Linked DNA regions of Homo sapiens: region 2 is linked to region 1. The links are contacts of gene promoters, found by promoter capture Hi-C in blood cells and fetal thymus (Javierre and others, 2016). All regions are on one chromosome and are shown on one strand. Each heading gives the region's core, a stretch centred on a gene start or on the middle of the fragment in contact. The rest is flanking DNA. Distances are from core to core; before and after follow the strand shown.

Evidence for each region. Contacts are between HindIII fragments. The CHiCAGO score rates a contact against its expected background, and 5 or more counts as called.
Region 2: a contact is called between a fragment that was not itself captured here and the fragment with the promoter of TMED4 in region 1, in 10 of 17 cell types (naive B cells, endothelial precursors, erythroblasts and 7 more). The highest score is 6.8, in naive B cells.

What each region holds. Positions count from the first base shown.
Region 1 is chr7:44,579,914-44,585,408 of GRCh38, reverse strand. TMED4 (transmembrane p24 trafficking protein 4) reads left to right here and starts at 3,178. Exons shown (of 5, transcript NM_182547.4): 1 at 3,178-3,362; 2 at 3,586-3,686; 3 at 3,835-3,960; 4 at 4,170-4,316. The coding sequence starts at 3,203. RefSeq lists an enhancer at 2,695-2,804 and silencers at 2,895-3,054, 3,455-3,554. The HindIII fragment of the contact is 9,471 bases long and covers 673-5,495 here.
Region 2 is chr7:44,809,588-44,814,485 of GRCh38, reverse strand. No RefSeq gene overlaps it. Among named protein-coding and RNA genes, the nearest start is that of PPIA, 15 kb to the right of the region's middle. The HindIII fragment of the contact is 991 bases long and covers 2,352-3,342 here.

The sequences.
Region 1 (5,495 bases), core at 1,929-4,428:
AGGAGAAATGAGAGCATTTGAAATTACCACTTTGCACACCTAAGGAACATCATAAAACTACACTAGGGTTTCTCAACCTGGGTACTACTGACATTTTGAGCTGGATAATTCTTCGCTGTGGGGGGGAGGTGTGCTCTGTGAATTATACAATGTTTAGCAGTATTCCTTGCATTCATTTTCTAGATAACAGCAGTACCACCCGCCACCCCCCACCCAGTTGCAACAATCCAAAATATCTCCAGACATTGCCAAATTTCCCCTTGGTAGGACAGGGCAGAATCAACCCTCGTTGAGAACCAATGGTCTAATGATCATCAACGTTTGCTAGACTATTAGAAGAAAGGCTGATGGTAAACTTCATGGATAATCAGGATGACAACCCCCAAATTGAGAGATGAATTACAATATTACTAAGAGACAAACCCGCCTTGTGCCTCAGTAGAAGTACATAGTGCCAGCCACGAAGCGTTATTGCAAACAAAACAAAACAAAAAAACCCAAACCTCAACATTACACCTAAACCTAATGAAGCTTCTAGCCAGGGGCAAATCCAAGCTTTGTGGGGCCTTAAACTATACAAATTTCACAGTCCTCTTTAAGAAAAAGACACAAAATTATAAATGCGAAATTAGGTACGGGGGTCTATGCAAGGGAGGGCCTGAAGATTAAGCTTCATTAGTTTCACTGTAAACCTCCCCTGACTCTAGAATTAACTGTGATTACAGGACATACCAGGGACAAAAAACGTTAAATGACACCTGAAGATACAATCAGCAAAACCCAGAAAGTGGAAAATTCTGTTGGTCAAATGACCCAGTTTCTTCAATAAGTAAATGCCATGAATAACAAACAACAAAAAGAGAGGGGAAATTTATATATATAATATATATATAATATGTATAATATATATATATGTTGTTATATGGTTTGTTTTTTTTTTTTTGGACACGAGTCTCTCTCTCACCCAGGCTGGAGTGCAGTGGCATGATCTCGGCTCACTGCAACCTCTGCCTCCTGGGTTCAAGCGATTCTTCTGCCTCAGTCTCCCAAGTAGCTGGGACTACAGGTGAGCACCACCACACCCAGCTAATTTTTGTATTTTTGGTAGAGGTAGGGTTTCACCATATTGGCCAGGCTGGTCTCGAACTCCTGACCTCGTGATCTGCCCACCTTGGCCTCCCAAAGTGCTGGGATTACAGGTGTGAGCCACTGCGCCCGGCCCTGTTTTTGTTTGTTTTGAGATAGAATCTCACTCTGTTGCCTAGGCTGGAGTACAGTGGCATCATCTCAGCCCACTGCAACCTCCACCTCCCTGATTCTAGCAATTCTCCTGCCTCAGCCTCCCAAGTAGCTGAGATTACAGGTGTGCACCACCACACCTGGCTAATTTTTGTATTTTTAGTAGAAACAGGGTTTCACCATGTTGGCCAGGCTGGTCTCAAACTCCTGACCTCAAGTGATCCTTCCACCTCAGCCTCCCAAAGTGCTGGGATTACAGGCATGAGCCACTGTGCCCAGCCAAAATTGTTATATATTAAGAGACATATATTTGTATGAAATGCAGTAAGTAAACCTTGTTTGGACCCTAAATATCTAATGTACAAAATTTTTTAAGGCAATGGGGAAAATTAAACACATACTAGGTATTAAGTGATGTTAAATAATTTTTAAAATTTTGGTGGGTGTGATAATAGTATAAAGTCCTTATCTGTTAGAGACACACACTGACGTATTTATAGGTGAAATGACATGATGTCCAGGATTTGCTTTAATATACAGCACTTCAAAAAAAAATGCAGAAAGGGATACATGAAATGAGAAAGGCAGCAAACTGTTGTTGAAGTTGGATGATGAGTACAGCCCTCCGTTATTATCCAAGGGGGATAATTCCTGGACCCCTACGGATACCAAAATCCAGGTATGCTCAAGTTCTTTATGAAAGTTCATTGTAATTATTCTATTATATAAAAGTTTCGAAATTCTGTTGATAAAATGTATTTTTAGTAGAGACGGGGGTTTCACCTTGTTGGCCCAACTGGTCTCGAATTTCTAACCTCAGATGATCCACCAGCCTTGGCCGCCCAAAGTGTTAGCATTACAGGCGTGAGCCACCGCGCCCGCCTGGCCTTGATAAAAACAGTTTTAACCTTCCGTTGCTTCGATTCCATGCCCACTAAGTAACATTCCAGTTTGTTTTTCACTTTCAAAAGGATGTGCTGTAACTAGGGGATGTAAACAAGCTCCATGACCCTACTTATTCCAAGTTTTCGTTCCACTCTCCCACCTTTTTTTTAAGACAAGGTATCACCCTCGGTCGCCCAGGCTGGAGCGCGATCACTGCTTAATGCATCCTCGACCTCCTGGGTTCAAGCGATTCTCCTGCCTCAGCCTCCCAAGTAGCTGGGACTACATGCGCACACCACCACACCGGTTAATTTTTTGTAGAGACGGGGGTTTCACCATGTTGCCCAGGCTGGTCCCGAACTCCTGGGCTCAAGGGATCCGCCCGCCTCAGCCTCCCAGAGTGCTGGGATTACAGGTGCCAGCCACCGCGCCCGGCCCCAGCTTCTTAAAAGAATGATCCGAAACTATGGCAGCACTGGGCTTTTGGTCCCCACCCAAGAAATGCCCGCTCGCAGAGGCTCGCCGCGGCAGGCTCTCCCGACGTGACAGAGTGTGGGTCTGGATTCAGCCTCGGTTCTTACGAGTCAGATAGGTGGACACGCAAAGCAAAACATCACAGGGCTTTTTGTATTTAGCACAGAAAACACTTGTGAGCCCGAGCTGAGAACCCAAAAGGCACGCTTCAGGCCATCGTAGCCACCAAGCCTGGTCAGATTCCGTCCACCGTCTCCTTGGTGCTCCGAGACCCAAATCGCTGACTGGGGCCGAGGGCGGGCGTGACTGCGCAGGCGTGCCTCCCCTGCGAGATGCCGGAGGTAAGCTGCGGGGTAAGGGGCGAGAAATTAAGGGCGAACGTCATTGCGCATGCGCCCTCTACTCTCGTTGCGGGGGTAGGCGGGCGCCGGGCTGTGTGAGGGGGCGGGGCGCGGCAGTGTTCGGTACGGATGGAGTTGCAGGAGACGGCGAGTACATATCACTGCGCAGGCGTCCTCTTCCCCTAACTCTCAGGGTCGCTAGGGTGGCGCGCAGGCGCAGAGCGATGCGCAAATGTGCGCAGGCGCTTAGGGGCTGAGGCGCGATGGCAGGTGTCGGGGCTGGGCCTCTGCGGGCGATGGGGCGGCAGGCCCTGCTGCTTCTCGCGCTGTGCGCCACAGGCGCCCAGGGGCTCTACTTCCACATCGGCGAGACCGAGAAGCGCTGTTTCATCGAGGAAATCCCCGACGAGACCATGGTCATCGGTCAGGCGGGCTGAGGGTGGGGAGGCCCTTTGTACCCAGCTCAGCCCTCGGCGGCGCTCCCTCCTCCCGAGCCCAGCCGGGTCGCTGGCTCCCCCAGTACCTAGCCTGAGGGTGCCCCGAGGACGCCAGGCCCCCTGCCTAGAGCTCCGGGCCGCACGTCGGAGGGGGCCGGGCGGAGAGGCGGCCCACTAGGGCCGGTCGTGACTATGTGTCTGCCCCGCAGGCAACTATCGTACCCAGATGTGGGATAAGCAGAAGGAGGTCTTCCTGCCCTCGACCCCTGGCCTGGGCATGCACGTGGAAGTGAAGGACCCCGACGGCAAGGTAAGGCTGGCGTTGGCCCACGCAGCCGTTCTTCAGTGGAGCTCCCGTGGGGTGTAAAGCACTGCCTGGAGGAGGCCTCAAGGGACAGGAACTTGCACTTGGAGAGCCTGCGGTATAAAGGTGGGGCCTTCACTCACATATGTTGCAGGTGGTGCTGTCCCGGCAGTACGGCTCGGAGGGCCGCTTCACGTTCACCTCCCACACGCCCGGTGACCATCAAATCTGTCTGCACTCCAATTCTACCAGGATGGCTCTCTTCGCTGGTGGCAAACTGGTAAGAGGATTTTCTCTTTGGCTTCAGCTTAGAATCTCTCACTTGTTTCCAAATTTTGATTTATCAAGATTGTGAAACTTTGTAGCACAGTCAGAATTGGGGAGACAGATGTTGCCTTCTGCTCCACAGCCAGGGACAATAGTGGGTTCCATACCCTGGAACAGACAACTGGAGGCCCCACCACTCATACATTCCATGTTTCCTTGTAGCGGGTGCATCTCGACATCCAGGTTGGGGAGCATGCCAACAACTACCCTGAGATTGCTGCAAAAGATAAGCTGACGGAGCTACAGCTCCGCGCCCGCCAGTTGCTTGATCAGGTGGAACAGATTCAGAAGGAGCAGGATTACCAAAGGGCAAGTGCATATCTCCTTGTAATTTGAGAGGGCAGTTGACCTTTATACCCACTATACCTACTCAAGTTTCTGCTTGGGAGATCAGCTCTGCAGAGAATGGAATGAGAAGTATTGGTTTAGATAGGTTGTTTGTTTGTTGTTTTTGAGACGGAGTTTCACTCTTGTTGCCCATGCTGGAGTGCAATGCCATGATCTTGGCTCACTGCAACCTCCGCCTCCCCAGGTTCAAGCGATTCTCCTGCCTCAGCCTCCTGAGTAGCTGGGATTACAGGCATGCGCCACCATGCCTGGCTAATTTTGTACTTTTAGTAGAGACGGGGGTTTCTCCACGTTGGTCAGGCTGGTCTCGAACTCCCGACATCAAGTGATCCGCCCGCCTCAGCCTCCCAAAGTGCTGGGATTACAGGTGTGAGCTACCGCGCCCTGCCTGTTTTGCTTTTTTATCAAAACATTTTATTGTGGTAAAATATAACACCAAATGTGTCATTTTAACTGTCTATATAGTTCAGTGGTATTAAGTGCCTTCATAATGTTGTGCTACCAACACCATCATCCAGCTCCAGAACTTTTTCATCTTCTCAAACTAAAAATCTGTACTTATTTTGTTTTGTTTTTGAGATGGAGTCTCGCTCTGTTGCCCAGGCTGGAGCGCAGTGGCGCCATCTCGGCTCACTGCACCCTCCGCCTCCCAGGTTCAAGCGATTCTCCTGCCTCAGCCTCCCAAGTAGCTGGGATTACAGGCAAGTGCCACCATGCGTGGCTCATTTTTGTGTTTTTAGTAGAGACTGGGTTTCACCATGTTGGCCAGGCTGGTCTTGAACTCCTGGCCTCAGGCAATCCACTGCCGCAGCCTCCCAAAGTGTTGGGATTACAGGCGTGAGCCACTGCACCCAGCAAATCTGTACTTATTATAAACAATAACTTCCCGTTTCCTTTTGTCCTGACACCCACCATTCTACTTTCTGTCTCTATGATCCTGACTACCCTATCTCATATAAGTGGAATCATTCAGTATTTGTCCTTTTGTGACTGGCTTATTTCACTGAGTATAATGTTCTCACAGTTCATCCATGTTATAGCATGTGTCAGAATTTCTTAAGGCTAATATTCCATTGTATGCATGTGCCACATTTCGCTTTCAGTAGTCATTTTTAAGCTCTATAAAATAAAATGAAGAAA
Region 2 (4,898 bases), core at 1,598-4,097, 230 kb before region 1:
GCAGGCAGATCACCTGAGATCAGGAGTTCGAGACCAGTCTGACCAACATGGAGAAACCCCGTCTCTACTAAAAATACAAAATTAGCTGGGTGTGGTGGCGCATGCCTGTAATCCCAGCTACTCGGGAAGCTGAGGCAGGAGAATCGCTTGAACCCAGGAGGCGGGGGTTGCGGTGAGCCAAGATCACGCTATTGCACTCCAGCCTGGGCAACAAGAGTGAAACTCCCTCTCAAAAATAATAATAATAATAATAATAATAATACAGAGTGAAACACATATTATTTCATCATCAGGGATTTCCCTTTCCTTTGTCCTTTATTGTCTAGTTAGACCTTACTGATCTTTAAAAATGTTGTAAGAAAGTCACACCCATAATTTGAGTTCAGGGCAGTAAAAGGAAGCAGTGGATCTGTAAGGCTATTATAAATTAATAGGCGGGGCGCGGTGGCTTACGCCTGTTATCCCAGCATTGTGGGAGGCTGAGGTGAGCAGATCACCTGAGGTCAGGAGTTCGAGACCAGCCTGGCCAACATGGTGAAACCCCGTCTCTACTAAAATTACAAAAATTAGCTGGGCATGGTGGCGGGCATCTGTAATCTCAGCTACTCAGGAGGCTGAGGTAGGAGAATTGCTTGAACCGGGGAGGTGGAGGTTGCAGTGAGCTGAGATCACACCACTGCACTCCAGCCTGGGAGACAGAGTGAGACTCCATCTCAAAAAATAAAATAAAATAAAATAATATAAAATAATAAATTAATAGAGAACTGTAATTTGTTTAGCCAGTCCCCTATGATGAATATTTATACTGTTTCCTAAAATTGCATTTGTACATAACCATTGATTCAAACAAAGCAAGAAAATTTAAAACATGAAGGAGAAAAAATAGTATTTCAGAATTTAAGGTTCTAAAGATAACCAATCTCATTTCCTCTTGCATTTATTTATATTTTATATTAATATATGTGTGTGTATATATATTTATTTATTTATTTATTTATTTATTTTGAGATGGAGTTTCGCTCTTGTTGCCTAGGCTGGAGTGCAATGGCGCGATCTTGGCTCACTGCAACCTCCACCTCCCAGGTTCAAGTGATTCTCCTGCCTCAGCCTCCCGAGTAGCTGGGATTACAGGCATGTGCCACCATGCCCGGCTAATTTTATATTTTTAGTAGATACGGGGTTTCTCCATGTTGGTCAGGCTGGTGGTCTCAAACTCCCAACCTCAGGTGATCCGCCTGCCATGGCCTCCCAAAGTGCTGGGATTACAGGCGTGAAGCACTGCGCCCTGCCGTATTTTTTTTGAGACAGTCTTGCTCTGTTGTCCAGGCTGGAGTGCAGTGGTGCAATCATGGCTCACTGCAGCCATGACCTCCTGGGCTCAACCAATCCTCCTGCCTCAGCTTCCTGAGTAGCTAGGACTACAGGCATAAGCCATCATATCCTCCTCTTTCATTTAAAGTAATCCTGTCATTAAAGCAGATTTACTTTTCACCACTGACATTACTATCCTGGCCCAAGCCCCTTTCCTCACTCCTGGATGATGCAGTAGTCTCCAGATTTCACTCCGCCACATAGTCTATCCTCAACAGACTTCAGTCAAAGTGACCTTTTTAAGAATGGTGGCTTAGGCCGGGCGCGGTGGCTGATGTCTGTAATCCCAGCACTTTGGGAGGCTGAAGTTGGCAGATCACCTGAGGTCAGGAGTTCAAGACCAGCCTGGCCAACATGGCGAAACCCCGTCTCTACTAAAAAATACAAAAAATTAGCCGGGCGTGGTGGTGGGCGCCTGTAATCCCAGCTAGTTGGGAGACTGAGGCAGTAGAATTGCTTGAACCTGGGAGGTGGAAGCTGCAGTGAGCCGAGATCACGCCACTGTACTCCAGAGTGGGTGACACAGCAAGACTCCGTCTCGGGGGGGAAAAAAAAGGTAGCTCTGTTGGGCACAGTGGCTCATACCTGTAATCCCAGCACTTTGGGAGGCCGAGTCAGGTGAATCACCTGAGGTCAGGAGTTCAAGACCAGCTTGGCCAACATGCCAAAACCCTGTCTCCAATAAATATACAAAAATTAGCTGGGTGTGGTGGCGCTCGCCTGTAATCCCAGCTACTCGGGAGGCTAAGGTAGGAGAATCACTTGAACCCGGGAGGTGGAGGCTGCAGTGAGCCGAGATTGCGCCACTACACTCTAGCCTGGATGACAGAGTGAGACTCTGTCTCAAAAAAAAAAAAAAAAAAAAAAAAAGAAGAAGAACGGTGGCTCATGCCTGTAGTCCTAGCACTTTGGGAGACCAAGGCAGGCGGATTGCTTCAGCCCAGGAGTCTGAGACCAGCCTGGGCAACATGGTGAAAGCTTGTCTCTACAAAAAATTTTAAAAGAATTTTTTGGCCAGGAGTGGTGGGTCACACCTGTAATCCCAGCACTTTGGGAGGCTAAGGCAGGCGGATCACTTACGGTCAGGACTTTGAGACCAGCCTGGCCCACATGGTGAAACCCTGCCTCTACTAAAAATACAAAAACTAGTCGGGCGTGGTGGTTCACTCCTATAGTCCCAGCTACTTAGGAGGCTTGAGACACAACAATCGCTTGAACCTGGGAAGCGGAGGTTGCAGTGAGCTGAGATAACACCAGTGCACTCCAGCCTGGACAACCAAGCAAGACTCTGTCTCAAAAAAATTTTTTTTTAATATTAGCCAGGTGTGGTGGGTGGCACATGCCTGTAGTTCCAGCTACCAGGAGGCTGAGATAGGAGAATCGCCTGAGGCCAGGAGGTCGAGGCTGCAGTGAGCTGAGATCAGTTCATTCCAGCCTTGGCAACAGAGCAAGACCCTATCTAAAAAAAAAAAAAAAGTTAGGCAAATGCTGTCACTCCTCTGCTCAAACTTCTATAGATATATGGATCCTATTTGGATGTAAATTCAAATAAGGCAACTGGGAAAACAATTATTTAATATATTGAATAAAAATACATAAGTCCATAGTGACAGGAGGAGGGAGGGATCAGAAGGGTACTTTACAACTGCAAAAGGGAATAATTGATTCAGACAAATATAATTAATGCCAAAACACAACAATCAGGTGAAAAGGCTCTCTTCTTGGAAAGAGGGTCTTTATGCAGAGGCAAAATATCACCCCTCAAGATTACCTAATTTTCAGAAAAGGGAAAAGATACCTTTCCAGTGGAGCAGTCTGGCAGGCATTACCTTAACTGCAAGTTCAAATTTAGCCTCACTGATGAGTCAGCCTGAGACTTTGTGCCTCCTGATGTGAGGCAAGATTAAGTACACAAAGTATCACCTATGAAATCTTCCTGCTAAATATGATGAATTTGAATCCAATTAAGCTTCTAGGCCTAGTGTAATTTCCAATTTACAGAAAATACAGGAGCTAAAAGAGAAAAACAGGAAACAATTAGCTCCAGAATAATGGACATTCCACAAAGTCAATGTCCTGAACTCTTTGTTTTATTTGTTTCTTTATTTTATTTATTTATTTATTTTTGAGATGGAGTTTTACTCTTGTCGCCCAGCCTAAAGTGCAATGGCACGATCTCAGCTCACTGCAACCTCCACCTCCCAGGTTCAAGCAATTCTCCTGTCTCAGCCTCCTGAGTAGCTGGGATTACAGGCATGTGCCACCACGCCCGGCTAATTTTTTATTTTTTAGTAGAGATGGGGTTTCACCATGTTGGCCAGGCTGGTCCTGAACTCCTGACCTCAGATAATTCACCTGCCTCGGCCTGGAATTGCAGGCGTGAGCCACCGCACCCAGCTGTTTTATTTCTTTTGGAGACAAGGTCTGGCTCTATCACCCAGGCTGGAGTGCAGTGGCACAATCACGTCTCACTGCAAACTCCACGTCTCACTGCAAACTCCACCTCTCAGGCTCAAGGGATTCTCCCACCTCAGCCACCTGAGTAGCTGGGACCACAGGCTCGCATCCAGTGTGACCACAGGCTCACACCTGGCTAATTTTTGTATTTTTTGTAAAGATGGGGTTTCACTATGTTGCCCAGGCTGGTCTCCAACTCATGAGCTCAAGCAATCTACCTGCCTTGGCCTCCCAAAGTGCTGGGATTACAGGAGTGAGCCACCGTGCCCAGCTGTCCTGAACTTTTTTTTTTTCTTTGATACACAGTCTCGCTCTGTCTCCAGGCTGGAGTGCAGTGGCATCTGCCTCCCAGGTTCAAGTGATTCCCCTGCCTCAGCCTCTTGAGTAGCTGGGACTACAGGTGCGTGCCACCACCCCCGGCTAATTTTTTGTATTTTAGTAGAGACAGTGTTTCACCATGTTGGCCAGGTTGGTCTCGATCTCCTGACCTTGTGATCCACCTGCCTCAGCCTCCCAAAGTGCTGGGATTACAGGCGTGAGCCACTGCGCCCAGCCTGTCCTGAACTTTTAAAAGAGTCAACATCGGCTGGGCGCAGTGGCTCACGCCTGTAATCCCAGCACTTTGGGAGGCCGAGTTTGGAGGATCACTTGAACTCAAGAGTTCGAGACCGACCTGGACAACATCGTGAAACCCCCTCTCTACTAAAAATACAAAAATTAGCTGGGCGTGGTGGCATCAGCCTCTAATCCCAGCTACTTGGGAGGCTGCGGAAGGAGAATTACTTGAACCTGGGAGGCGGAGGTTGCAGTGAGTGAAGATCGCCCATTGCACTCCAGCCTGGGTGACAGAGTGAGACTCTGTCTTAAAAAAAAAAAAAAAAAAAGAGGCCGGGCGCGGTGGCTCACGCCTGTAATCTCAGCACTTTGGGAGGCCGAGGCGGGCGGATCACGAGGTCAGGAGATCGAGACCATCCTGGCTAACAAGGTGAAACCCCGTCTCTACTGAAAATACAGAAAATTAGCCGGGCTTGGTAGCGGGCGCCTGTAGTCCCAGCTACTCGGGAGGCTGA